Linked DNA regions of Homo sapiens: all the other regions are linked to region 7. The links are contacts of gene promoters, found by promoter capture Hi-C in blood cells and fetal thymus (Javierre and others, 2016). All regions are on one chromosome and are shown on one strand. The core of a region is centred on a gene start or on the middle of the fragment in contact, and the rest is flanking DNA. Distances in the headings are between cores, read along the strand shown.

Region 1 (4,293 bases), core at 1,438-3,937, 2.9 Mb before region 7:
GGAGAATCGCTTGAACCCAGAAGGTGGAGGTTGCAATGAGCCGAGATCACGCCACTGCACTCCAGCCTGGGTGAGAGTGCGACCCTGTCTAAAAAAAAAAAAAAAGTGATATGAATATTCCTGACAAAGATCTGAAAAGGTTAGGGAAGACTTCCCAAAAGCTGGGCAGAGGCCAGGTGCAGTGGCTCATGTCAGTAATCCCACCACTGGAAGGCCAAGGCAGCAGGATCACTTGAACCCAGGAGTTCGAGACCAGCCTGAGCCACAAAGCGAGACCCCCGTCTCTAAAATTTTCTTTAAAAAGCTGGCCGGGCGCAGTGGCTCACGCTTGTAATCCCAGCAGTTTGGGAACCCAAGGCAGGTGGATCACAAGGCCAAGAGTTTGAGAGCAGCCTGGCCAGCATGGTGAAACCCCGTCTCTACTAAAAATACAAAAATTAGAAGGGCATGGTGGCGCATCCCTGAAATCCCAGCTACTCAGGAGGCTGAGGCGAAGAATCACTTGAACCTGGGAGGCAGAGGTTGCAGTGAGCCGATATCACACCACTGCACTCCAGCCTGGGGGACAAAGGGAAACTCCATCTCAAAAAAAAAAAAAAAAAAAAAACCTGAGCAGAGATCTCGTGTTATAAACAGGAGTAATCAGGCAAAAGGAAGGGACAAAGGTAGGAGTCAAGAAAGAATCCTACCAAATAGAAAAAAACAAATTGTGCAAAAGACCCCATAATGCAAGACAGGATGGCATATTCAAAGAATGATAGAAGGCCAATGTAGCGGAAGCACAGATTGTGAAGTTGGAAGTGGAATAAGAAGAGTTTGGCCTTTACCAAGAGATATGAGTTTAGCAGGGTTGTGGCTAGGTCAGATTTTCATTTCTGAAAGATCCCTATGGCCAGTGTGGAGAGTGGATTGGAAGTATACAAATCAGTTAGGAGTAATCTAGGCAAGGGATGGCAGCAACATGAACTAGAATGATGGTGGAGGGGATAGAGAAGTGGCCAGATTTGACATATTTAGGAGACAGAACCAACAGGGCTTGGTGACTGATTAGATATAGAGGTGAAAGAGAGGAGTCAAAAATGATGCCCAGGCTTTCGGTTTCAACAACAGAGGGTACAACAGTTGTACCTCAGTGTCCATTGGAGACTGGTTTCAGGACCTCCCATAGATACCAAACACAGATGCTTAAGTCCCTGACATGAAATGGCACTGTTATATACCCTAGGCACACATCCTCCTGTATCTTTTAAATTATCTCTAGATTATTTATAATACCTAATACAATGTAAATGCTATATAAATAATTATTTACTTGTAATGTTTATGGAATAATGGCAAGAAAAAAAAAGTCTGTACATTTTTACAAGGACGCAATTTTTTTTTAATATTCTCTTTTTTGTTTTTTGAGACAGGGCCTTGCTGTTACCCAGGCTGAAGTGCAGTGGTGTGATCACAGCTCACTGTAGCCTCAAATTCTTAGGGCTCAAGCAGTCCTCCCACCTCAGTATCCCGAGGAGCTGGGATCACAGGCACATGCCACCATGCCCAGCTAATTTTTTAAATTTTTTTGTAGAGATGAGGTCTCCCTATGTTGCCCAGGCTGGTCTCAAATTCCTGGCCTCAAGCTTTTTAATATTTTCAATCCAAGGTTAATTGAATATACAGATGTGAAACCTACAGATACAGAGGGCCAAATGTGCCCTTCACCGAGACAGAGAAGACAGGAGGCAGTGGCTTTGGGAGGGGAATAGCAAAAGAAAATAATTAGCTCAGTTTGGGCAGTTGACAAGGTTAAGCAGCCTGGGAGATATCCTAGTTGGCTAGTGGCAGTTAGATACCCCAGATTTTAAACTAGAAGTATACACATTCAGAAGTTATCCGCATACAGATGGTAACTGAAACAATGGAAAATGGATGAGATCACCCAAGGAGAATGTGAACAGGAAAGAAAATGAGAAAAGTCAGATAAGAAAAATCAAGTGAAAGTGATGTCGCTAGAAAGCTGAGTGAGTTTCCGGGAAGATGTCATCAACAGTTTTGAAGACCACAGGGTTTAGATAAGTTTTAAATATCCATCTCATTTATCAATTGAGAAGTCGCTGTCAATCTTAGAGCTATCTTAATGTAGTAGCATGAGTAGAAACATATTGTAATCAGTTGAAAAGCACATGAAAGATGAAAATTAGAAACAAGGACAGCTTATTATTTTTATAAGTTTGGCTGTGAGTGAAAGAAGAAAGGTAAAATACTAGAAGAAAAAGGTAACAATGAAAAGAATTTAACTTGTTTCCATGTGGATGACAGAAATCTGACATTTTCACATAGTGACTGAAAACTGATGAGGACGTTATCTAATAAACATTTCAGAGGACATGGGCAATAAAATGTAGGTTCACTGCTAAAGCAACCCTGATAAACTCTTTTTCCACAGGATCATTATACATTGCTAATAAGAATGCAAAATTAGTACAATCACCACTATGGTGGTCACTTGGCATCATCTAGCAAAATGTTAAACGTGCATATCATTTGACCTGACAATTTTATATGTAGAAATGTATCCCACAGACATACTTGGGCAAATTATACGTACAAGATTATTCATTTACAGCACTGTTTGAACCCGAAAATGACTAGAAATAAACCGAATATCCATCAAGAGACTACTTAAGTTATGGTACATCCACACAAACTAAGTAACTGGGGGTGGGGACACGGGAGGGGGGGCGCGATGCTTTCTGTGTACTGATACGAAAATCTCCTGGACACATTAAACAAAATCTAAAAGTGGAGAAAAGTGTGAATATTACTGTCTTTAAAAAAAGAGAAAATCCCATTTATATTTGCTTAAATATGCATAAGGAAACTGTGGAGGCTGGGCTTGGAGGTTCACACCTGCAATCCCAGCACTTTCGGAGGCCGAGGCAGGTGAATCACCTGAGGTCAGGAGTTTGAGATCAGCCTGGCCAACGTGGAGAAACCATCTCTACTAAAAATACTAAAATTAGCTGGGCACGGTGGTGTACGCCTGTAATCTCAGCTACTCGGGAGGCTGAGGCAGGAGAACTGCTTGAACCTGGGAGATGGAGGTTACAGTGAGCCGAGATTGCGCCACCACACTCAAGCCTGGGCAACAGAGCAAGACCATCAAAAAAAAAAAAAGAAACTGTGGAGTGATAAGAACCTCTTATAACTGTTATAACTGTAGTTACCCACTGTGGAGAGTTCAAACTGGGCAGATGGTGGGTAAGAAGGAGACGTGACACTTTAACTTGTTTTTTTTGAGACAAGGTCTCACTTTGTTCTCAGCTCATAGCAGTGTCAACTTCCCAGGCTCAAGCGATCCTCCAGCCTCAGCCCCACAAGTAGCTGGGACTATAGGTGAGCAAGACCACGCCCAGCTAATTTTTCTATTTCTTATAGAGAGGGGTCTCCCATGTTGCCCAGGCTGCTCTCGAACTCCTGAGCTCAAGTAATCCACCCGCCTCAGACTCCCAAAATGCTGGGATAACAGGCGTGAGCCACTGCACCAGCCACCCCACTTTAACATTTTTAAATTTTCTGGCTTGTGAGCTATGAGAATATATTACCCAGCCAAAAATTATGCTTTAAAAATCTTTTTTTTCGAATTTTTCTTCTACTGAGATAGTAGTTAAAAAAGAACAAGGAATATAATGATGCTAATAAATTTCTACAACACAAGATATAAATGAGACAGAAGTTTAAACAGCTTTAAAAGTTTAAGCTTTTGGCTGGGCACATTGGCTCATGCTTGTAATCCCAGCACTTTGGGAGGCCGAGACAGGCAGATGGTTTGACCTCAGGAGTTTGAGACCAGCCTGGGCAACATGGCCAGACCCCATCTCTTAAAAAAAAAAAAAAAAAATTAAGCTTTTGCTTCAATTTTTTCCATCTGATTTATCAGAAGTACCTGAGGGAATAGAGAGAGGAGATGTAGGGGGTGGCCAAGGAATTGAGAGCTATAAGAAAATAAGGTTTGAATTAGCAGATATGGAGAATGGAAAAGGCGGCTACGAAAATACACTAGACTCAACTAAGAATTTTTTTTTTTTTTTTTTGAGACAGTCTAACTCTGTCACTCAGGCTGTGGTGTAGTGGTGCGATCTCAGCTCACTGCAAACTCCGCCTCCTGGGCTCAAGCGATCGTCCGGCCTCAGCCTCCCGAGTAGCTGGGATTACAGGCGCACGCCATCACACTAGGCTAATTTTTGTATTTTTAGTAGATACAGGATTTCCCCATGTTTGTCAGGTTGGTCTCAAGCGATCTGCACA
Region 2 (4,115 bases), core at 908-3,407, 2.2 Mb after region 7:
AATATCATTTATTTGTAAATTATTTCTAACTTCTAAGATTTCTTTTTTTTTTTTTTTTTTTTTTTTTTTTTTTGAGACGGAGTCTCGTTCTGTCGCCCAGGCGGGAGTGCTGTGGCGCGATCTCCGCTCACTGCAAGCTCCGCCTTCCGGGTTCACGCCATTCTCCTGCCTCAGCCTCCCGAGTAGTTGGGACTACAGGCGCCCGCCACTGCGCCCGGCTAATTCTTTGTATTTTTAGTAGAGACGGGGTTTCACCGTGGTCTCGATCTCCTGACCTCGTGATCCGCCCGCCTCGGCCTCCCAAAGTGCTGGGATTACAGGCGTGAGCCACCGCGCCCGGCCTAAGATTTCTTAACACATCACTATCAGGGTAGCATTAGCAAGTCTTTTTGCTAATATTTTATTCCAGTACAGCCATAGAATTCTTAAACTGACTCTTTTCCTTTTTACTCAGGACCTTTTATTTTATGGAAATCACACCTGCCTAGGGAATTAACAAAGTATTTGAATAAAAATGTATTCATTCATTACCACATGTTCTTCTCTGAATTGAGTACTTTCACCTTATTCTGCATTGAGCTAATCAAGTCCTAATGATGCTGCATTAAATTTGATCTCAGAAGGTGCAATTTTCCAACTGAGTCTAAACAATGCATGACCTTTATGGTGTTTTTCATAAATATAGCATTGTTTCAATTACTCCAGCTAGCAGGGGCTGGACAGAAAGAATAATCATTTTATTTGGATAATGGCTTCTGTGTATTGTCAGGCTCTTAATTTCTCCTTGCCTTCTCTAGCCTGCTACCATGAATACAGTGTCTTTCTAACATCCCTCTCAGGGCAGTACAGGAGACCCCATCCATCTCCGGTTGTTGGTGGCTGCATGGCAGCTGAGCATCTCATTATGGCAAAGTGAAGCATTCTGGGAGAGTGGATGGGGAAGGCAGACAGCAATAGGAAATGGGGGAGGGAAGAGGAGGATGGGAGCTGTGGAAAATATGTGCTCACTTCCTTGGTGATGATAATGTGTTATGGAAGTAAGAACTTCCTGTCCTAGTGGGGAAGAGCATGAAGTATGTCAAAAACCCATGATTAAGCAGATTCCAGACCCTACAACCGGGTTACAGCCGCCTCAGCCACCCCGTTCTGCCCAACACTCAGATCTGAACCCCCAGTTGAATCTACCACAGGGGCTATGTTGGTGGGAGGAAAGCAATGAATCCAAGCACTGAAGAAAAATCTATGGTTCCAAAATTGAAAAAGAAATAAATTTGGACACACACACATATGTTCATCTGCAGGCACGCACACAAACACATGCAAACCACTAGCTTACCCCATTGAAAAATATTTATTTCCAACTAACCCGAATGCTTACATTTTACTTTGTTACACTGCCTCAGCTAAGACAGGTTAAAGCAAATGGTCCTTAACATTTTAGGGGTCACAGACCCCTTTTACTAATCATTCACAGTGATGATTATCAAAGGCCTGCAACCCACTCATGCTACCCCACCAGCTCCTGAGTTAAGAATTCCTAGATTAAACATTCAAGTTAACAAGTATTTTATTTTTAAAAGCCAGGGGCTTTAGGGAACAATCCATGGCTCTCAGTAATTTTGTTAGTGAGAGATTAGTTCCACTCTGTTAGCTTTCCTCCCGAGTCTGGTTGACATCTGAGCCTGCACTCAAATGATGGGAATTCTGTTAGGGGGCTGGTGGGTTAAGTGAACAGTTTCAGGCTGTGGAGCAGTGGGAGGAGGAAGGCTTGGCTTGGGGGGCCAGTATTTTAAGGCAGTGGGAAGGTACTTTACATGAAGCAAGAGAGGAGAAGAGCTCTTGGAGATGAAATGCCAAGAATAGATTTCATCTCTTTCGAAATTTTACCCAATTCCAGCTCCAAACAGGGGTCTAGTCAGAACTGCTTCTTGTGAGGCCACCCACACCCAGACACAGGTACCCCCACCCACAGTCTTCCTTTGCCATCTCTCTCATCTCATCATGGCATTCCCTCACCCTCAACCCGAGGCCCCAAGCAGCTCCTCAAGCCCCAGAAATGCCCCAGACCTCCCAGCTGCCCTGTCCCCACCCCACAGGCTAGTCTTAGCCTACAAGTCCAGCCTTGGGCCCCCACAATAGCTTCTCTCTTATTCTTTACTCTTCCATCTCACAAGCACTTTTTCTGGCTTCAAAGCACCATCACCACAACCTCAGTGGTTCCTAAACCTCCATTCACATTTTATAGCTTTAGCTTTGAGAAACATTTCAAATCCACAGATAACAGATTGGGGAATAGAAATATTGGCAAACATTTTAAGTACCACTGACTTTGTAGCAGGTACTGTCTCAAGTACTCATGTTAAGTCATTAATCTTCCCAACAATCCCAAGAGGTAGACATTTTTGTAAAACCCACTTTATGGGTGAAAACACTGAAGCACAGAGAGGTAAAGTAACTTTCTCAAAGACACACAGCTAGTAAGTGATGGAAGTCAGAGAATGAAATCCTAGCAGATGAGCTTCAGATTGGTATTTTTACTCACTGTGCTATGTTGCCTCTTTGATAACATTTTACAGAGGGCTGCTTGCCCACCCGCTACCTGCATCCCCAACACAGATTCCAAATTCTTTAATGTGAAAGCTGTGCTTTTTTTCCTAGCATCAGTAAACACCTAGCATAGTCTTTGGAGTCCAAGGCAAATCTCCTGTATTCTCTCTGCCCACCATTACAGGCAACATGAAACACAGTTTCCCCAATATCAGGGTATGGGCCTTTATTCTTTTCCTTGATAAGCAGATTAGAGGATCTGGAAACAGGACCACAAGTTGGCATATGTAAGAGTAGGTCCCTAAGTAGCAGAGTGTAGTTACAAGCAATGCGACTTTAAAGGATTGCCATTGTGCATGGATCAGACGTGCGTCATTTGCTCCCATTCTCCCACATCCTCTTTGGGAGCCTCTGCTCCCCTTTCCAGCTTCCTGTCCCGGGTGCCCAGGGCCTCTGACCATGGCTCTTGGTGGGTGGCCCTCCTGGACAGACTGCTCCCATTTTCGGGACAAGGCCCATTCTCAGCGAGTAAAGGCAAACCTCACTCTTTGTTCCCTAAACTTGTGAATAGGCTGAAGAAGATTAAAAAGAGCTTGAACAACATCCTTGAGGAAAGCCGTGGAGAAGGAGCCTGAAGACTCAGAAGGAGAATAGACTAGTGCCAAGATTATTCTATTTTAATGATCTAGGGAAGGGTATAGGGCCAGTCGGGTGTGTAAAAGCCTCATGTCCTTTCAGCATCATGAAATGGAGATGCTTCTTTCTTCCCTGCCTCCCTGAAGCACTCTCAGTTTGTGCTACTGGAGCACAAACTACCACCCCCAAAACCCCCAGCACACATACGAAGTATAGACCCCAAGGGAATCAGCCTAATTCAGACACCCTAGACATGTTTGTATTTAGGACCTATTTTGATTAACTTGCCCTTATCAAAACTTGCTTTTCCAACGTCTCATTCCCTCAGATCCTTGTGGATGATTGGCTTGCTGTTCTCGGTTAGGGGAGAAATATAGATGAGTTAAGATATTACCCCTTGCAAACAGATTTACAGCAAAAAAAAAAAAAAGAAAAAAAAAAGAAAGAAGAAAAGAAAAGAGAGAGAGAGAGAGAGAGAGAGAGAGAGAGAGAGAGAGAGAGAAAGACTCCTAACAAACAAATGGCTCAACACCAAAACCTAAAATACTTCCCCAAGCCAGGCTCCCACTCTGCAAAATCTCCCCCCTTCTACTCTTGGTATACAAATCCTCATCCACCTTGATGCCACAGCTTAAAGCTCACCTCCATTAAGCCTTCCTTGACTGAGGCTCCCCACAGTCATGTCTTTTTCCGCTTACTGCCTCCAGCACTAGAACAGAATTTTGCAGGAGAACCAGAACCAGAACCAGAACAAAAGGGAATGGAATCTTGGGGCTAGATAATCTCAGAGGTGAGCTCAGCACATTCTCCCCTTTCACAGGTGAGGAAAGGAAGACACAGAAGTGGCCAGCCTGTGGGCATCAGTGGGCTGTTTGGGGGACATCTGGAGTTGTTTCTGTTTAGCCCTCCTGTCTTTGGCTGAGAAGGACTCC
Region 3 (3,712 bases), core at 287-2,786, 2.4 Mb before region 7:
AAGACCAGCCTGGCCAACACGGCAAAACCCTGTCTCTACTAAAATTACAAAAATTAGCTGGGCGTGGTGGTGCACATCTGTAATCACAGCTACTTGGGAGGCTGAGGCAGGAGAATCGCGTGAACCCGGAAGGTGGAGGTTCCACCAGCCTGGGCGACAGAGCAAGACTCCTCCCAAAAAAAAAAAAAAAAAACTTTTATCCAAGACTCATTGACAAAATGTTTTTGAAAATGTCTCTTTTCTCACAAAATAGCCCAAAATCAAGAGACTGAATTTTAGCAAACATATTTAATAGGAGAAAAGCAGCATTGCCTCTATTTCCCTTTTATTTTTAATAAAGTTTACAATTAATTTTTAATCTCTAACACATTTATACGCCTCAAATATAAAAAGAAAAAGAGATACACTAAGAGGCTTTATTCCCACTGCTACCCAAATCTAACCTGTTCCTATTACCTCCTACAAATGACTTTTTTTTTTTTTTGAGACGGAGTCTCCCCGTCACCCAGGCTGGAGTGCAATGGCACGATCTCAGCTCACTGCAGCCTCTGCCTCCTGGGTTCAAGTGATTCTCCTGCCTCAGCCTCCCAAGTAACTGGGAATACAGGTGCACACCACCATACCCAGCTAATTTTTTGTATCTTCAGTAGACATGGGGTTTCACCATATTGCTCGGTCTGGTCTCAAACCCCTGACCTCGTGATCCGCCCTCTTAGGCCTCCCACAAATGACTATTCATTGTTTCTCTTTATACTGTTTGTTTTGCAAATACAGGCAAATGCATATATAAATTTTTATATCCTCCTCCTCTTGTAAAAGGAAGTATAATATATATTGTTCTGCACCTTATAAACCAGTATCCCATTAATATGCTTCAAACTTAATTTCAATACATATTTTTTTGGAGCCTAGGTATAACAGTAAAGAAACTTCGACTGAGTTATTCTTGCTACATCCTCCAACGACTCATAATTATGCCCCACAACTCTCTATGGTTCACCTCCTTAGCGGTTCAAAGGAAACACAGTGGTTAAAAAAAAAAAAAAAAACTCTCTAAGGCTGAAAAAAACAGAAGTTACTAGTATTCCTTCCAGTTCAGAAACATTATTGACAAGCAAAAGGGGGGAAAAAAAGGAAGGAAAAAAACGTTAAAAAAAATCAGCAAATAGTTGGGAAAAAACATGGAAGAGATTATAGCTATAGTAAGTGTTTCTAATAACTGTACAAGCAACTAACTGAATCACTTACTTGGCTAACACTTTGGTGTGAGTATTGATGACATTCAAAGCTTCCTTGAAACTTCCATTCTGGATAAGGCATACCACTTTACAATGCAGGGCAGTTACGTCATCTTTGTTGATCTGTAGTACTAGAGAACAATTTTAGGAAAAGTCATTTTTAAATCCATTTCCTTTTCACATTTTTACTAAATTTTCCCACCCTGTCTCTCCGAAAGCTAAATTTCTACTTTTATTGCAACAGAAATAATTGGTCAGAACAACTGGAAGAAACAGCAACAAAACAAAACAAACCCAGAAAACAACTAATCTTTGCTTTTAACTTAAGAAGTGACAATAAGGAGAGTTATAGATTAAATTTTCAATGAGATAAAGATTCCCAATATACATGTACCAAAAAAGTGCAGTGAAATAAAGAAGAAAGAAGCAATTTCTCCAGATATTTCATCTTGAAATGCATGCTACATTCTACATAGTTCATTACTTCACAGGGAAAAAGTTCAGGTAGAATTTGGAAGCAAATGACCTAGGTTTGGTGCAAGCTTGCCACTAAATGCTTTGAGGTATTGGGCATATCACTTAACAGCCAAATCTCAGTTTTCTTAGCTACAAAATGATTAGAAAAGCATTACCTATTTAATAAGGTTACTGACAATATGAAATGAATATTTTGGAAAAATCTTATAAAGTATAATACAAAGGCAATTTATCTTGCTGGCAACGTTTCCAAAAATCATTAAAATTTCCCCTTTTCAACTAAGATGACCAAAGTATAAGGAAGAACTCAGGTGGCAAGTTTCAACGCTAACAACTGTTCGGTGTTAAAATGACCAGGATCATAGTTACTCTTGCTCCTGTGCAACTACAGAAGTCCAATTCTCAAAGAATCACAAGAATTTCTACCAATTAAGAAAACATACTGGTAAACAAGTTGACAATCTTTGCTGATTAAAGAATTCCTGCAAAATACTATACTAAGTATACAGTACTGGTTGGAAGGCTAGAGTTAATTCAAACAAATTTAGGGATCAAATAATTCTAATTCGTAGCTATTTTCCTCAATGTCTGAAATCACCAAAAGTGCACTGTGGGCACAATCACTACTTTTCACGTTAACCCAGTACTAGAGTGTTGAAAATTACTTAGATAGCTTTGCATGTTACTGACACACCTTTTAGGTTACTGCTACTCTGAACAGCTAAGCCCTGCCTTGGTAATTACATTTCCAAATCTAACATGCACAGGCTGTATCTTCAGTAGAGAAGAACTGCGCACCACCGAGAACATTAAGCAGCATGGCCATATTCCAGGTATGTAGTAAGGAACAAAAGAATATGATGAATTAAACCTCACACCAAAGGCGGTAAAAACCGAAATCATCCCTTACAGGGCAAAAAAACAGGCCAAACTTTTCTTCCGACATTATTTCAAGTGTTGGTGCTTCCACACACATATTTCCTAACTTAATAACACTGAAGAGATCTCATCTATGGGAATGACAGGCCTGACATCCAGATCCAGCCCTTTCCTCTCGCCCCGTAGAACCCGTACAGCTTCCACCTGGTTAGCACCAGCCTCTAAACTACGTGTCCCAAGCAGGTTCCTCCCCCTTTAGCGGCCAAAGAGAACAAGCTCCCTCAGCAATAGAGTCCTGATCACTGCGCTCAAGACGAAGAAGAAAAGGAGGCACTTTGGAATATTTGTGAAATAAAGCAGCAAAGGAGTCAAATAAGAAAACAGTTTGAAATGGACTCCGGGAGCTGCGGTCTCTTTAAAACCTTCCCTCGCTTCCCGCGGAGGGTAAAAAGAGAAGTACACGTGGCTGTAAGCAACCAGGGACCCCAGGCTGGCCTGGTGAAGCCGAGGAGTGAGACCTGCGTCTTCCGGGCGCTAGGGCCCGAGCCGGGCGGACAATAGACGGGGGGGTTTCGGGGGTCTCCCCTTCCCGTGCCTCCCGCGCGAGGTGGTCTCGCGCGCCGGAAACAGGCCGCATCCTCCAGCCGGCCTGGGCCCGCCCCAGTGCCCACCCCGACACTTACTCTTATTGACGGTCTTGAGAGCGCGCGTGAAGTCGCCGTTCTGGCCATACCGGTTCACTTCACTCCACAGCGCAGGTACTGACACCCCCCCGCTGCCGCCGCTCGCCATCTTGGAGGAGACGAGGGGCGGGGCGGGGAGACCTCTGCCCCGGAACAGGATCTCCGAGGCAGCCAAGAGGAGGAGGAAGTCGATGATTGCTAAGCGTCGCCGAGTTGGGAGTGTCTTCAGCCCTAAGGCAGCATCAGAGATCATAATCTTCTGCTCTCGTGGCAAGAAATTTGTGCGGATAGAGTTGATACACCTCACTTGAAGTTGGCCTGGAGAAAAGAGGCGTCGGACTCCTGGACGGGGTTGGGAAACGGTCACCAGTTTCGGCTCAAAGCAGCCTGTTTCCAGGAGACCGCCATGGTCGAGGCAGCGTCCTGGTCCCACGG
Region 4 (3,697 bases), core at 728-3,227, 2.2 Mb after region 7:
TGGAATCACCTAAGAAGACTGAAAAACACCAAATACCAGGGCCCCAATCCAGATCAATTAAATAAAAATGGGTGTGGGGCACCACGTGTTTCTCAAGCAGCCCAGGTGATTCTAACATGCAACCAGAGAAGTAGATTCTATCCCTGACTCTCAACTCAATCCCTGGCGTGCCAGTAGCCAATCCACTCCTGGAACAACCTCAGCACTGCTAGACAGGAATCTAACTCATTCACCATACCCTATCAGCACACGATGAAAAGGCCAAGGTCCAGGAAAAAGATTGCAGAGCTGAAAAGCAGGGTAAAAACCAAAAGAATTGAAAGTAGCAGGTGAGGAAGGTGTTAACTAACTTCATTCTCCTCATCAATAAATATTTGCTATTTACAAGGCACAAAAGCCAAAGGAGAAAATTGATAAGGGAACAGGTCATTCAAAGTGACTCAGCATTTTCACTGAACACAGATCCAAAGTTAAAGCTATCCAAGCATATTGCTGCTGGCTTTTTCTTCCTCTTGCAGGACTCAAAAAAGGGGCTGGGAGAAGAAACCATCCGCCCAAGGGAGGCAGCATCCATCCATCGCCCACCACACTGCCTGTGCCTGCTGGTGCTATCCCAAGGGACTCAGTCACTTCAGGACACCCGTCTGGCTGCACTCCCAATGTGACATGGTACAAAGGGCCCTAGCTTCATTCTCCTCACCCCACCTACCCACTGAAGGTGAGCACAAATGATCTGTACTACCCACTGAAGCACACAGAATCACTGGGTAGTTCACAGTAAAAATCTTTCCATCTCACTAATGTTAAATGAGCCCAGATTTTGGTTAAAGAATGTCAATCAGCTCTGATAACATAAAGCCCTGGGTTGGAGTCAGAGCTCCAACTGAGTCCCAACTGAGTGACCCTGTACATGCTTCCAAACTTCACTGTGCCCGTGTCCTCATCCATAAAGCCGAAATAACAGAACCTCTTTGCGAAGCTACTGTGGGGATTATTAAATGAGATGGTGCATGTCAAGCACTTAGCACAGTGCTGGTCCATATTATGTGCCAATCAACGTTAATTGTTTTCATCCCTATTATTATTTAGAACGTAGAAGACACTGAGACAGACTGAACCTAGAACTACAAAAAGACAGGGCAGAAGAGATCACAAGGTGATGGTGTTTAAAACTACTAATTCACTAGCTATTGGACTTAAATGTACAACTATCCCGTTTCCTGTTTAATTAATAATTAAGAAGTGATCTGTGGCTTAATTTTGGGAATTGCATATGTAGGACAAGACATTAAACTTACCCTAACCTACAGGAAAAAAAATAAAAATAATTTCAAAAATGTTATGTAAAAATGATGTTAGTAGTTGTTTTCTAGTTTTGCTGCAATGTCGTTGAGATCTCCTATATTTAAAAATAACAAAGTCTATTTAAATAAAATCTAAGAAGACTAAAAATGACTATTTCATTAGTTAAGAGTATGAAAATACTTTGCCACAATTCTTCAGTTTCCCACTTAAAATCAGTTTTTAAATGTCTACTCTCATTGTAAGCAAACCAGCAAAAATGAGAGGGGATGAAGAAGAATGGGAAAGAAGAGACTCAGAAATCCCAGATCCTGATCCTGCTGGGACTCATTCCAAGAAGAAAAGAACCAAGAGATAATCCATCAGCTGGCTCTGTCAGCATCATTCATAGGCCAGTGACAAAAGAAAAAAAAAGAATTCCAATATACATGCAGTGTTCCAATCAGGGTTCAATGAAAAGCACAAACAAAATGTTAAGAATGATTTCAGTGGCAGTAGAGGGTTACCAAGACCATGGAGTCAGAATGCTTGAGTTAGAATCTCAATTCACCACTTATAAGCTGTGTGACCTTGAGAAGGGGAGTTAACCTTTCTACACCTCAGCGTCCTCATCTGTGAAACAGAGATAATAACAGTCCCTAACTTATTGAGGGTTGCTGTGAGGATTAAATGAGTTAATGCAGGCAAAGCAGTTGAAGCAAATCCAAGATCATCACTGAATTCGTGTTAGTCCCTCCCCATTCCCCTTTGCTCCTCCTCCCTCCCTGTGCCCCACCTGGGACTTCTCTTTCCTTCTCTCAGTTCCTTTCCACTCATACACTCTCCCTGGTGCCTCTTTTGAGTTCTTCCCACCGACCCCACCCCACCCCTGCCACCAGCTCCTGCCTAGCCCTGCACCTCACCTTCCCCTCCACTCTAGCCTACCAAACACCCACTCTCCTGCCACAGTTCTCTGTCCCCACCATGCCATGTTGTCGCTGGGCTTGGAAAGCTCCCACCTGACCCCATATGCCACCTGCACATGCATACACATCCTGTTCTTCACATAATCCAACTTCAAAAGCTAAAACTCACATGACAACTGCTAACCATTCCCCACATGTTCTCAAAGCCCCCGGGGCATCCATCTAACCTAGCAGGCATCATCGTCCCATGCATCCATTCCTTCTGTCTCCACAATGAACTCACTGAAGGAAGCTCCTGAAGCCCCGGTCTCCCCCACACAGTCCTGCCTGTGACAGCAGCACCTGGCAGCAAAAATCCCCTTGAATGTTTGCTGAATGGCTGAGTGAGGGAATGCCTCATTTGGTTCTGTTCTTTCTTATAACTTTTCTTCTCAAGAGTGATTTTTTAAAGGCTACCTAGGAGACTGTCATCACACAGTAATTGTAAGCATCAAAAACACTTTACGTGTTTCATCTCATTTAATCCTTTGGACCACTTATGATTTTTGCCTCCTACTTTCTTCCCTCTGCCCTCCCCCACAACTCTAAGCACCCCAGCCTCTGCTGTTCCTCAAATATAGGCCTGCTCCCCACTCTGAGCTTCTGCATTTGTATTCTCTCTGCCTGGAATGGCCCCTCAGCTCCATCAGGGCTTAGCTTAAAACCTCCTTAGTGAAGCCTTTCCTGGCTCCACTATTTAAAATTACAACACCCTCCACCCCACCCCACGCCCGCACACAGGGGTGCCTGCATGCACCCCTTCCCTGCTGTTTTTCTCTACAGAACCTATCACCATCTGACGTATTACACAATTTACTTGTTACTATCTGCCCCCTCCCCTACACTAAAAGGAAAACTTCATGAAATATGAAGAGCAGGGCCTGGTACATAGTAGATACCCAATAAACACTTGGTGACTGAACAGCCTTCAACAGGCAATTTTTAGGCATGAGGGCTCTGAAGCGCACACAGAGCAGCTGGGTAACTCTACTCCAGTCCCTTGGCTAGGAGATGACAGAGCAAGGATTTGAATTCAGCCATTTTGGCTTTCTTGCCTCCCAACCTGACCCAGATAACAATTAAAAGACATCATCACATCCAGGGAGAAAACCCGAGCCCTGCATGTCTACAGGCCACAGAGAAGCCAGAAAAGCCATCCACTGGAAAGCCGCTCACCAGAACAAGTCATCTAACTCAAGACACTTCTGTGCGGCAAAGTATTATTTATCAGACTGATAATTTATACAGCACTGATAGTTTTTCTTTGGATTTCATAGTTCAGTAAAAACGAGAGATTTATCATGCCTTTATTATACTGTAATATCCTCAGGAACAGCAAAGTGACAAATCATCAGCTAATATGGAGGAGGCCTAAGGTAACATATGTTAAAAGCCAACAATTGTGGTAGTGGGGCAGGAGGAGAAGCACTGACTACAAGGGGACACAAGGG
Region 5 (4,259 bases), core at 670-3,169, 2.3 Mb before region 7:
GACAGGTGAGTTAAATATACCATTTCACACAAAGTTTGAATAGAATACATTATACCTCATAGGTGTCTAGCCTCTACAGTTCTGGCTGTAGTTATGACCTTGGCTTCCCTGTCTAACTGTAGACAAATCTTTAAAAAAAAATAATAATAATCTGGTGCCTCAGTTTCCCCACATGTGCAATGGGATACTTATTAAATAATTAATAAGAATGTGAATAAGTGTCATACTTTTGTGATTTGAGCCATCATTTCACTTCTGATTTTAAGACAACTCATGATTGTTAGCTTTCAGAAAGCTAATGATTGTTAACTTTTTGAAATTAGTTTACAATTAATTAAGATTTCATTATGATGGAAGGAGACATAATTGGCAGATCTTTGCCATCTCTCTTTGAGATGTCCTAAAAAGGGTTGTAAAAATCTGTGAAAAAGTTTTTCCTACATTTGACTAGAAAATGTGATCCATAGTATTTAGTGCCCTGATACTATAAGCTCAGCAAGTAACCTGGTACATTTGAAATAAAAACCAAATTTTTAGATTCAAACAATCCCTTTATCCTTAATTTAATTAATTATCATATGCTTTTTTTAATGAAGTGCTTGATCACTTGCAAACATATATACATGTAGATGTACATATACATGTACACATACACATAAATATTATTGCAATTAAGTGATCAAGTACAGACACAATAGGGGCCAGTTTTGTTTAAGGATCAAAGAGACAACCACTTTGGGGAATTAGTATCAACTTACAATCCAAGTCCAAGTATCATCTTATAATCACTTTTTTCTACTATATTAAGATCTAATGAATTTGATTTCTTTTTTGAAGTTTTTTCTTGTAACATCTGAGATTAGAAGTTTAAGATGACTTGACCCCAAACCTTTGTTTATGTAAGAATTTTTAAACATAAAAGTGTTTGTTTCTGTTATGTTACCATAATTTGATGTATATAGTGTCCAGATCCATTTAGAAATTTAATATTTATTAATAACTGAAACTGTTTGTCTTCCTTTGGTATATAGTCTCGCATATTATATTATAGCAGGCCAAGATAAAATTTTGACAGCTCTTTAAGCCCACATGCAGCAGTGGGTCAGATAACCCTGTGGCAGTGACACGGGCAAATTGGCATTTGAATAAAGCCCTGGGACCACCTCAACATGCGTAGCCTCTTGTCTTAAATGTACTCCCCATGGCAGCATGGAGGAGGCAAGACCTGTGGGTCAATTTTGAACTGGCCTTACTTTGATTTTTAAAACAAGAGACTCAGGGAAAGTACTAAACCAAAATCTCTGATTTTACTTTGCGTTTTCTGTAGTTTTTGTTTTACTGAGATGCTTTTGTAAAGGAAAATAATACTGTGACAGTTTAGTAATTCTACAGATTCTTAATATTTCTCCATCATGGCCTTTTACTTCACAATTTTCTGAAGTCTGAATTCAATTACAATTTTTTTTTACCAATTTAATCTCAAATGTTGTTTAACTGCTTTAAATTCATATACGTAGAGTATTATAAACTGCAGAGATGAAAAATGTGTTTTCACGGGATTTATATTGTGAACTAAACTAAGCCTACTTTTTGTGACTTATTTGTGATGCCTTGTTGATAAATATGTGTAATAAGTATGTTTAAATATGTGTGTCCTTTTTTTTTTTTTTTTAAATAGTGACTTTAGTTAGTGCTTTATGGTAAACAGCATGGAGACAACTTCCAGGCTCCATTCTTGGCACCAGCTAGTCATATCTTATTTCTCTGATCCAGGCATTTCAATAAATAGGCCATCTCTTATGAACCAGGCAAAACTGCTGGTTGACTATGAGGGACAAATTAAGTAATTAGAAAAGCAGTACTAAGTAAGCACTACATCGTGGCAAGTTCCTAGGAAGCACTATGGGGAAAGAGGGAGTGTCATGGAAGAGCAGGATTAGATTCAAAGTGTCAGGGTGGGTAGGTAAATGAATAGATAAACTGTAGTACATTCAGACAATAGAATATTATTCAGTGCTTAAAAGAAATGAGCAATCAAGCCATTAAATGACAGAAGGAACATAAATGCATATTAACTAAGTGAAAGGCACCACTCTGAAAATACCACTCTGAAAATATTGAAGGTATCCAAAGAAAAAGTCTCCCATGTTAAGGATAAACTGGTCACAGACAAGAAAGATTACTAGTAGGGCACCTGCCAGTGTTAAGAAAATTTCTGTGCAACTAGGTAAACCTTGGTCGCTGGACTGGATCTTTAATTCTTCTAGGTTCCTCCAATCCAACTTTCTTCCATAGAATTACTAAAAACGAGACTTGCTATGTTCTTAAAGCCCAAGCTCAAACTTAACTGAATTTTAAGGGAGAAATCTCATGCCCAAAGGTTCACAAAACTGCCCAATGCTATAACCAGAGACATTAAAACTGTAAACCAGAATGAAAAGCTAACATCTCCATACTGTGGGCAGCTTTTCCCAAGATGATGGAACATAACTCCCCATCCTAATGACACTCTTGCCCCTCTTAATTCTTCCTTGTTTATGCCTACCTCTTTGATTTGGCAGGATAATTTCACAATCGGTAGATATTGTGGGTGACTTGACAGAATCTGACTTCATAAATCCTTTAGTCCACCCAGGGGGTAATACTGGCAACATCCTCAGTAAACTTTTTGTTCAAATTGTACTAATGGTCTTTTTTAAAACAGAGTTAGCTCTCTCTGCTTTAATTCAAGCCAGTCATGGAATGCTAAGTAATAGGATTGCTGTGTACCAGCTAAACAAAGAGATGTCTGTGCTTTTGCTCATACTACATGCTGTACCTGGATACATTCCTTTGGGGAATTTATATACACAAAATAAGAAAATAGCCCACATGGTATAATAAGTCTCACCTAATTCTTCATGATCATTTGATTTATTCAACTGGTTGTCTTTAAGCCTAGGTTCACGGCTGAAAACTATTATGCTGAGATTGTTACTTTGTATTTTCTTTTTTTTTTTTTTAAGAACTTTATACCTGTTTCTTGTCAAATTTGCATAGAAATGCAACTCCTAAGAGAATAATGCTCTCCCAGCACTTTGAGATGATAGACAGTGCCTATGGAACAGACAGAATTGAACTTAACAGTGGACTCCAGGTAGACTTAGCCTGAGATCCACTCCCTCCAAACCTCTTTTGTTGTTCAAATGTGGCTAAAGGGTTTTGATGCTAATTCCTAGTTACCAGTGACTCCCTTCAACATGAGGGCAGACTGGCACCAAGAGATATCAAAACCTAAATACAGGATGATTGATCAGTGATGCTTTTGAGAAAGACCTTGATCAAAAGGGGAAATGTGAAAGTTGTCAGATTCAAAATGGAGTCACTCGTATTAAAACCCTGGCAAACGGAGCCAGGAAACGCCATGAAGGGGAAGGGTTCTCATGTACATATGGTTGATAACAAGAACTATCAAAAGACTACAAAAATTTACAACCTGCACAAAGGCCACCACAACCTTAAACACAACACACACACACACACACATACTTCTGCAACGACATCTGCCTAGCAACTGCCTATCTAACTTATGGACTGACACCACCCTTACCACGCTTGTTATTGTTAAAACAAACAGTGAGGTTTATTTTTATTTATTTATTTATTTTTTGAGATGGAGTCTCACTTCGTCACCAGGCTGGAGTGCAGTGGCGCAATCTCGGTTCACTGCAACCTCCACCTCCTGGGTTCAAGTGATTCTCCTGCCTCAGCCTCCAGAGTAGCTGGGACTACAGGCGTGTGTCACCATGCCAAATTAATTTTTATATTTTTCAAAGAGACGGTTTCACTGTATTGGCCAGGATGGTCTTGATTTCTTGACCTCGTGATCCACCTGCCTCGGCCTCCCAAAGTGCTGGGATTACAGGTGTGAGCCACCACCACTCCTGGCCTTCCAGTGTACTTCCATAGTTACATATTCTTTCCTCGTGCCCTGTGAAGAGGTGCCTTCCACCATGATTTTAAGTTTCCTGAGGGCTCCCCAGCCATGTGGAACCGAGTCAATTAAACCTCTTTTCTTTATAAATTACCCAGTCTCAGATATTTACTTAAAGCAATGTGAGAACAGACTAATACACCTGTCAAAACACCAAGCCTGAAAAACTCAACCACTAATTTGCTCTCTGCCTTCTCCTGAGCAGCTGAACACTTAGAGTAACTCACACAATGCCTTATTATCCCAACTGTGATATGTGGTACAACAGCACATAACAGGAGGACCT
Region 6 (3,954 bases), core at 139-2,638, 2.9 Mb before region 7:
CAGCTAATTTTTTTTTTTTTTGGGTAGAGACCAGGTTTTGCCATGTTGCCCAGACTGGTCTCGAACTTCTGGGCTCAAGCAATCCGCCTATATTGGCCTCCCAAAGTGCTGGGATTACGGGCATGAGCCACCATGCCCAACCAGTCATCAATTTTTAAAACAAATTATAAAAGCCACAGGGACTGAAGACTAGAGGCCAGTGATTTAATACTGAAGAATTTAAGACTCAAAGGTAGGAAACGTATATTCTTTTTAGACATGGCTGTCAACAACAAAACAAGCCTTTTTTTTTTTTTTTTTGAGACGGAGTCTCACTCTGTTGCCCATGCTGGAGTGCACTGGTGAGATCTCGGCTCACTGCAAGCTATGCCTCCTGGGTTCACACCATTCTCCTGCCTCAGCCTCCTGAGTAGCTGGGACTACAGGCGCCCGCCACCATGCCCGGCTAATTTTTTGGTATTTTTAGCAGAGACGGGGTTTCACCTTGTTAGCCAGGATGGTCTCGATCTCCTGACCTCGTGATCCACTCACCTCGGCCTCCCAAAGTGCTGGGATTACAGGCATGAGCCGCCACACCCGGCAAAACAAGCTTTTAAAAAAAGGTATACAATTTGTTTTAATATAGTCTCCAAACACAAGATAATTATGACCTTGGTAAAGCTACTAAAACACCGTTTCCCCATCTGTAAAAGTAACAGAATCTTCATTTCCTGTAATTGCAAAAGCTTAAATAATACATGCAGAGCATTTAACACTGTGTCTGGCACATAGTAAAGCCCTCAATAAATGTAAGCTATCAATTTTGTCTAAGACAGAAACAAATGTGTCTAATAAAATAAGGAAAAGGTGGTACACAGAAAAAAGAACAGGCCAGGCATGGTGGCTCATGCCTGTAATCCCAGCACTTTGGGAGGTAGGCGGATCATTTGAGCCCAGAAGGCCGAGGCTTCAGTGAGCCGTGACCACACCACTGCACTCCACACAGGGCAACAGAGCGAGACCCTGTCTTAAAACAAAAAACAAACAACAACAAAAAGAATGGTGATAGATGGGAAATGTGTTCCTCATAACTATTCTGCTGTAATTCGCTGGTAGCTACGAATTAGCTGTAAAGAGTTGGTAGCAACAGAATGCCTACCTTATGACCTGGAACAATTAAGATAGTTTTATGTTAATGGAATTCTGTAAAAAAAAGATTTACAAATAGCCAATAAACACATGAAAAGATGAACATTATCATTAGCAGTGAGGGAAATGCAAATCAAAACCACAAGGAGATGAAGACTTCATATCCACTAAGATAGCTGTAATCACAAAGACAGATGTTAACAGTATTATTGCTAAGGATGTGCTGAAATTGGAACCCTCACACATTGCTGGTGGGATTGTAAAATGGCATGGCTAATTTGGAAAACAGTTTGGCAATTACCCAAAATGTTGCTACTATACTGCCCCACAATCTCACGCTTAGGTATATATCCAAAAGAAACAAAAACATACGTCCACACAAAACTTAAACATGAATATTCATAGCAGCATTATTCAGACTGCTTATTATGATTCCACTTGTGTGAAATATTCAGAACAGGCCAATATATAGTGAACTGCATATGTAAACTGTATCTCAATAAAAAATTAAATACCACTGCAGATAAACTTGAAGAATCAAAGATAATTTACTTTTAAATTCTTTTATTTTATTATTATTTTTTTTTGAGACGCAGTCTCGCTCTGTCGCCCAGGCTGGAGTGCAGTGGCGCGATTTTGGCTCACTGCAACCTCTGCCTCTTGGGTTCAAGTGATTCTCCTGCCTCAGCCTCCCGAGAAGCTGGGACTACAGGCTAAGTGTTGTATTTTTAGTAGAGACAGGGTTTCACCATGCTGACCAGGCTGGTCTCAAACTCCCAACCTCAGGTGATCTGCCTGCCTCCCAAGGTGCTGGGATTACAGGCATGAGCCATCTCGCCCAGCCTGCTTTTAAATTCTTTACAACAGATTACTTTATCTGTGTAATTCCACAAACTAGGCATAACTCTCCTCCAGAAAGCTTAGTTACCTACTGATTTTTCAGTTACACATACAGGCAAAAAGGTTTTCTTTAAAAGTAGATTTTGTGAACAAGTTAAATATCAAAACCACTAAACTAAAGAGGTCAACCAGAATGAAAGTCCCCAGCTCCCCCCACCCTTTTGGTGGAGGTTGCAGTGAGTCGAGATTGCTGAACTTTAAATGCTACTTGTAGTTTGTTTTTGAGACAGAGTCTCACTCTGTCCCCCAGGCTGGAGTGCAGTTGCACAATCTCGACTCACTGCAACCTCCACCTCCCAGGTTCAAGCGATTCTCCTGCCTCATCCTCCCAAAGTGCTAGGATTACAGGCGTGAGCCATCGTGGAACGGCTATAAATGATACTTGTATATGACCTTGGGAACATCACTTCAGCCTTTTAAATCTGAAGTTTTCCCCTGTGTAAACATGAACTATCATCACAGATGCTATTTTCCTCAATGGATTGTTCTGAAGATTAGCACAGAATAGAAGGGCACAAGAAACACAATTAAGCCCACTAAGCCAATCAGAAAACTGGGCTACTTACTAATGCAAGTGGAAATGAGAAGTAATTCCTGAACACTATCAATTTAAGTGATTCCTGTCTTTTCTGTCTCTACTCTTCCGCACCAGATGAGTTTATTTTCCATAATTTTCAGAACTATCCATTTAATACCAGAGATACTTTCAGAATTTACATAATCAAAATATTAACCTTCAATCTATACATCACCAAATTGTTTTAAAATGTAATAAAGGCCAGGTTTGGTGGCTCACGCTTGTAATTCCAGCACCTTGAGAGGCCGAGGTCAGCTGATCACAAGGTCAGGAGGTCGAGACCAGCCTGGCCAACATGGTGAAACGCTGTCTCTACTAAAAATTTTTTAAAAAATTAGCTGGGCGTGGTGGCACGCACCTGTAATCCCAGCTCCTCGGGAGGCTGAGGCAGGAGAATCACTTAAGCCCTGGAGGCAGAGGTTGCAGTGAACAGAGATCACGCCATTGCACTCCAGCCTGAGCAACAGAGCAAGACTCCATCTCAAAAAAAAAAAAAAAAAAAAAAATACACACACACACACACACAAAATTGGCCAGGCGTGGTGGCTCACGCCTGTAATCTTTGGGAGGCCGCGGCGGGTGGATCACTTGAGGCCGGGAGTTCGAGACCAGCCTGCCCAACATGGAGAAACCTTGTCTCTACTAAAAATACAAAATTAGCAGGTGTGGTGGCGCATGCCTGGAATCCCAGCTACTCAGGAGGCTGAGGCAGGATAATTGCTTGTACCTGGGAGGCGGAGGTTGCAGTGAGCCGAGATTGCACCATTGCACTCCACCCTGGGCGACAAGAGTAAAACTGTCTCAAAAAAAAAAAAAAAAAAAAAGTTAAAAAAAAAAAAAATCAGAATGAAGGTAATACTGGGGAAAAATAAGCATTAAGACCAAATAAACCAGGCCAGGCTTGGTGGCTCAGGCCTGTAATCCCAGCACTTCAGGAGGCTGAGGTGGGCAGACGACCTGAGGTCAGGAGTTCAAGACTAGCCTGGCCAACACGGTGAAACCACATCTCTACTGAAAATACAAAAATTAGCCGGGCATGGTGGAAGGCACCTGTAATCCCAGCTAAATGAATATGGTGTACTTATTTATGAGTTTAGTATATATGATGGCTGGGATTTAAGATATTGTAGGTAAGGCTGGTTTAGTCTAACAGTCTGTCTAATTCAAACTGTCAAGTGATTAATGGGGTTGTGTCCCCAAGTAACTTTCATTTCCTACTTTATGTATTTTTGTAATGCTTGACCTTTACTTCTGAAATCGAATGGTTTCAAAGCATCGAGACAATCAATCACAGCTTATGACAAATTCCAAAGGGACTACAAATTCTTTTACTGGACTAAATTTTAAAG
Region 7 (3,754 bases), core at 1,156-3,655:
TTCTAAGGAGCTCTGTGTGGCTTCCTCCGTCTTTGGGAAGTTGTCAGCTATGTGATGATTTAGATACTTTGGGGCACTAGCCCCTTATCTTGGCCACTGTTTCTACATAAGGGTGAATTCTCAGCCACAGCCAGGTGTGGGCTGTGCCAGGACATACTGACCTTATTTCCTCTTATTCTCTTTCTTATCTTCCCATTTGCAGCTGTTCCTTTAACTGAGTGCAGCCACTAGTCTCCTGGTTCCTGCCAAGGAGGAAATTCAGAGGCTGAGGAGGGAGGATCGCTTGAGCTGAGGAGTTCAAGGCTGCAGTGAGCTATGATGGTGCCACTGCACACCAGCCTAGGTGAGAGAGTGAGACTCTGTCTTAAAAAAAAAAAAAAAAAAGACATTCAGGAAAGCTTGGACCACCAGTATACTCAATTAGACCATTAAATCTTAAATCGTCACATGGCCTTGAGAAAGCCACATAGCATCTCTGAAATATAGCATATCATAGCATCTCTGAAACATAGCATATCTGAAAATAAATACACCCTCTTTGCTTACCTCACAGGTTCTTGGGGGAATATTAAATGATATATTATGTACGTGCTTTATAAGCAGTAAAATATTACATAATGCTGTGGTAACCCTCACAGGGTTGATAAGCTAGGGAGCCTTAAGCATCACCTATTACCCCGTATTTATTGTGTACTGGGCCTTCTTCTAGGCACTTCACCGATCTTAAGCCCTTGAATCTGCTGAGCATCCCAATGGGGCAGGTACTGAACAGGGAAGTTAAGTGGCTTGTCTAGGGTCACACAGTAAGTGGCAGAGCTGACATTCAAGGCCAGGTAGTCAGGTTCCAGAACACACATTGTTAAACACCAGACCAAGCTGCCTCCTGTGTGCCCCACTGACACTTCCTGTGTCCTCCTCCATGAGCCCCTGGCAGAGATGACAATTGCTTGCCTTAACAATAGATAAGCTACCAGAAGTCAGGGCCTGTGCCTCATTCACACACGTCCACAGTGCCTGCCACATAGCTAGAGTTCAGTAGATATTTGTTGAATGAACAAATACCCTCCAGGGAGGGATACAATAAGTCTGATACAACTACTGTATTTTTCCTTCATTTTTTCTTGGCTAACCACACTCATTTCCTTCAGTTGTTTCCAAAAGGAGGTTGGCATCTCTCACTGTCCTCATTGACCTCCTTTGCACTTTCTCCACGTCAACAGTGACCCATCTAAAGCCGACTACTGTGACATGAACACTGCACTTGAAGAGCCTGACCAGCGCTGGGCTCAGTAGAACTATCCTTTCTTCTCCCATGGTGTATCCTCACTGTCCAGGACTCTCTTCTCAGAAGCCCACTCCTTCCCCTGTGCTGTTTATATGCTTAATGAAACCAAGTACCCAAAGTGACCGTTCAACTGTTACTAGGCAGCTAAGTAGACTCCATTAAACCTTTTCCTTCCTTCCTCCCCTTCTTTCTTTCTCTCCCATTCTTCTTTCATTCTTCTCGTCCTTCCTTCTATCCTTTCTTCCTTCCTGCCTCCTTTTCTTCCTCTCCTCTGCCCTTTCTTTCAGGTCTTTTTTGTGGTAGGAACTGGTAAGAAAAGGAAAGGAATTCCCTAAGATTTTAAGGAAACAACAACAAAAACCAGGTTATGTTTGGTGAGAGAGTTGGGGCAAGAAACTGCATCTTCTAATATGGAATCCAGGTAATTTATCAGTTTTTTTTCATAGCATGACTACGGTGAGATTTCTTGTAAGAAAAAAAAAAAAATACCAGCATCGCTGGCCTCATATATTGGATTATACTTAAGGGGATCAAGGGATAAGATGTTTGAATTTGGAGATGTCTTGAAAAATCCTGTGGTGAGCACAAATGTTTGCAGTGTCTCTGCTGGACTCCTCAAATTGGGAAAAAAGAGACTCTGGTTCTCATCATAGACTCAAAACCTGAGGAAAAGCGAGATGCGATTATTAGATAAACTGGCAATGACACGCACAAAAATGTGTCTATTCCAGCCAGGGCTTTTCTTTTCAGTTGTTTGTTTTGGTTAGAGATGACTTTGGGGAACTGCATGTCCCACTGGACATTCCAAGCTGCGTTGTCGGAGTCGCGGGTCGCGGCCTCCAGTCAGCGGAGCCGCCGCCCCCAGGGTCCGCCACCCAGAAGTCGGCGGAGGGGGGCCCGCCGGCGGGAGCGCGCGCCCCGGTCGCCGTCTGCGGGTAGAAGCAGAGGAAAGACGGTGGCCTGGGAGCGCGCGAGGCCGCACGTGCGCGCGCCCGCCCGCCCGCCAGCCAGTCCGCTCGCCCACGCGCCCACGCACGCGCCCGCCCGCCCGTTGGCCCGGGAAGTCTCGCGATGCCGTAGCCGGCTGCTCCCGCTGCGGGTGGCTCGGGCTGTTGCTGTGGTTTCCTGAGTTGCTGCTGCTGCGGCGGCGGCAGCGGCGTCTGTGCTTGTGGAGGTGTCGGCCTCTGGGCGGATGTTGACATTGTGTTGTTGTTATTGCTGATGGTAATGGCGGCGGCGGTGGCGGCGACGGTCCAGACCCCATCCCCTCTGTAGCCGGAGCCGAGACAGCCGACAGCGAACTCCGCGGCCTCGGAGCCGGCGGCAGCGGCGACTCCCCTCAGCCTCCGCCGCCTCGCCCGCCGGTACCCCGGCGCCAACCCCGGGAGTCAGGCCCTTTGGGCAGGGGAGCTCGGAGGCTCAGGATGGCGGATTTCGACGAAATCTATGAGGAAGAGGAGGACGAGGAGCGGGCCCTGGAGGAGCAGCTGCTCAAGTACTCGCCGGACCCGGTGGTCGTCCGCGGCTCCGGTCACGTCACCGTGTAAGGCCCGGAGGAGGGCGAGGGCGGGAGGTGCGGGCTGGGGTGGGCCCCGTTACTCCACGGGAGCCCCGTTTCCCCTGTGTCCGTCTGGTGTCGGGGGCCTTCCGAAAGAGTAGGCAACCAGGAAGTGAGAACTTGGCTTATTTTCATTTGTTTGGGTCTCCGAAGTGGGGACGGACGCTGTCCTTCCTCCTCCACACACCCCTTTAGCAGGCCCTACAGGCCCGGGCGATGTGACGATCCCAGTAGGCACGGGTTTTCATTAGGGTCTGCCCTGCGGGCCACCCTTCCTCTTCAGGGTGGAAGTACGTGTATTGACAGGGAGCCTCCTTGTTTTCTCGCCCAGTTACCCTGTGGTTGTCTGTGCCTTTGCACCCAGTGACATGGCTCAGAGGCCAGATCTGGGCCGTGTGAGACCCCAGTGACAATTGGCAGCGAAGCTCCGTTTCGTGTCTATTTCACACATACCCACAGGTCTCCCAGTTTTTCCACTAATTTCCGCAGAACTAATGCAAGTTCTTGTAATTGTACGTGATAAAAATATATAGTTGAACACAAATTTAAGATATACAGAAAGAAATATGTTTACAACAACAACAACAACAACTACGTGAGGGACATACACTCTGCTCAGGTTACTGAGGGAAAATTGTAGTCCTGAAGCTCCTCCTTGGGGCACGAACTTGGGGCTTGTTAATTTGGAAAGTCCCACTAGTAACATTAAAAGTCTGATATTAATAAGGAATGAAAGCTTTCGGAAAGACCATGACAAAGGAATGTGAAGCCTTGAACCAAATAATGAGCTGTCCGGAAGCAGGAAGTTTTGTAATGTTTCACTATGAAGTCCACAGTTTTGTACCACTTGATGTATTACATTGATACTCTCTCATTTTAGATCTCTTGTTCAAATAATAGATCAGACTTCC

What was found. The method cuts DNA at HindIII sites, captures the fragments that hold promoters and counts their contacts. A CHiCAGO score of 5 or more calls a contact.
Region 1: a contact is called between a fragment that was not itself captured here and the fragment with the promoter of CHIC2 in region 7, in 4 of 17 cell types (naive CD8 T cells, non-activated CD4 T cells, total CD4 T cells and 1 more). The highest score is 8.2, in naive CD8 T cells.
Region 2: a contact is called between a fragment that was not itself captured here and the fragment with the promoter of CHIC2 in region 7, in 3 of 17 cell types (naive CD8 T cells, non-activated CD4 T cells and total CD4 T cells). The highest score is 6.7, in naive CD8 T cells.
Region 3: a fragment that was not itself captured here is called in contact with the fragment with the promoter of CHIC2 in region 7 in 1 of 17 cell types (non-activated CD4 T cells); the score reaches 9.4 in non-activated CD4 T cells.
Region 4: a contact is called between a fragment that was not itself captured here and the fragment with the promoter of CHIC2 in region 7, in 1 of 17 cell types (naive CD4 T cells). The highest score is 5.4, in naive CD4 T cells.
Region 5: a fragment that was not itself captured here is called in contact with the fragment with the promoter of CHIC2 in region 7 in 1 of 17 cell types (non-activated CD4 T cells); the score reaches 5.6 in non-activated CD4 T cells.
Region 6: a contact is called between a fragment that was not itself captured here and the fragment with the promoter of CHIC2 in region 7, in 1 of 17 cell types (non-activated CD4 T cells). The highest score is 6.0, in non-activated CD4 T cells.

The regions. Positions count from the first base shown.
Region 1 is chr4:56,979,683-56,983,975 of GRCh38, reverse strand. The region is part of intron 1 of POLR2B (RNA polymerase II subunit B); the gene reads right to left. Among named protein-coding and RNA genes, the nearest start is that of POLR2B, 2.9 kb to the right of the region's middle. The HindIII fragment of the contact is 2,120 bases long and covers 1,628-3,747 here.
Region 2 is chr4:51,833,613-51,837,727 of GRCh38, reverse strand. It overlaps a transcript of DCUN1D4 not described here. Among named protein-coding and RNA genes, the nearest start is that of DCUN1D4, 7.5 kb to the left of the region's middle. The HindIII fragment of the contact is 7,583 bases long and covers 1-4,115 here.
Region 3 is chr4:56,467,310-56,471,021 of GRCh38, reverse strand. It overlaps SRP72 (signal recognition particle 72), which reads right to left and starts at 3,405. Exons shown (of 19, transcript NM_006947.4): 1 at 3,278-3,405; 2 at 1,249-1,369. The coding sequence starts at 3,386. It overlaps LOC124900706 (a long non-coding RNA gene), which reads left to right and starts at 3,464. Exons shown (of 2, transcript XR_007058126.1): 1 at 3,464-3,712. RefSeq lists an enhancer at 3,351-3,560. The HindIII fragment of the contact is 492 bases long and covers 1,291-1,782 here.
Region 4 is chr4:51,850,038-51,853,734 of GRCh38, reverse strand. All of the region lies in intron 1 of DCUN1D4 (defective in cullin neddylation 1 domain containing 4), which reads right to left. Among named protein-coding and RNA genes, the nearest start is that of DCUN1D4, 8.7 kb to the right of the region's middle. RefSeq lists an enhancer at 1-280. The HindIII fragment of the contact is 7,268 bases long and covers 1-3,697 here.
Region 5 is chr4:56,390,748-56,395,006 of GRCh38, reverse strand. PPAT (phosphoribosyl pyrophosphate amidotransferase) reads left to right here. Exons shown (of 11, transcript NM_002703.5): 11 at 1-1,645. Among named protein-coding and RNA genes, the nearest start is that of AASDH, 5.4 kb to the right of the region's middle. The HindIII fragment of the contact is 6,954 bases long and covers 1-4,259 here.
Region 6 is chr4:56,914,398-56,918,351 of GRCh38, reverse strand. All of the region lies in intron 2 of REST (RE1 silencing transcription factor), which reads right to left. Among named protein-coding and RNA genes, the nearest start is that of REST, 8.5 kb to the right of the region's middle. RefSeq lists an enhancer at 3,084-3,584. The HindIII fragment of the contact is 1,322 bases long and covers 728-2,049 here.
Region 7 is chr4:54,063,256-54,067,009 of GRCh38, reverse strand. CHIC2 (cysteine rich hydrophobic domain 2) reads left to right here and starts at 2,405. Exons shown (of 6, transcript NM_012110.4): 1 at 2,405-2,828. The coding sequence starts at 2,710. RefSeq lists enhancers at 1-500, 2,497-2,997 and silencers at 2,098-2,337, 2,568-2,697. The HindIII fragment of the contact is 3,181 bases long and covers 401-3,581 here.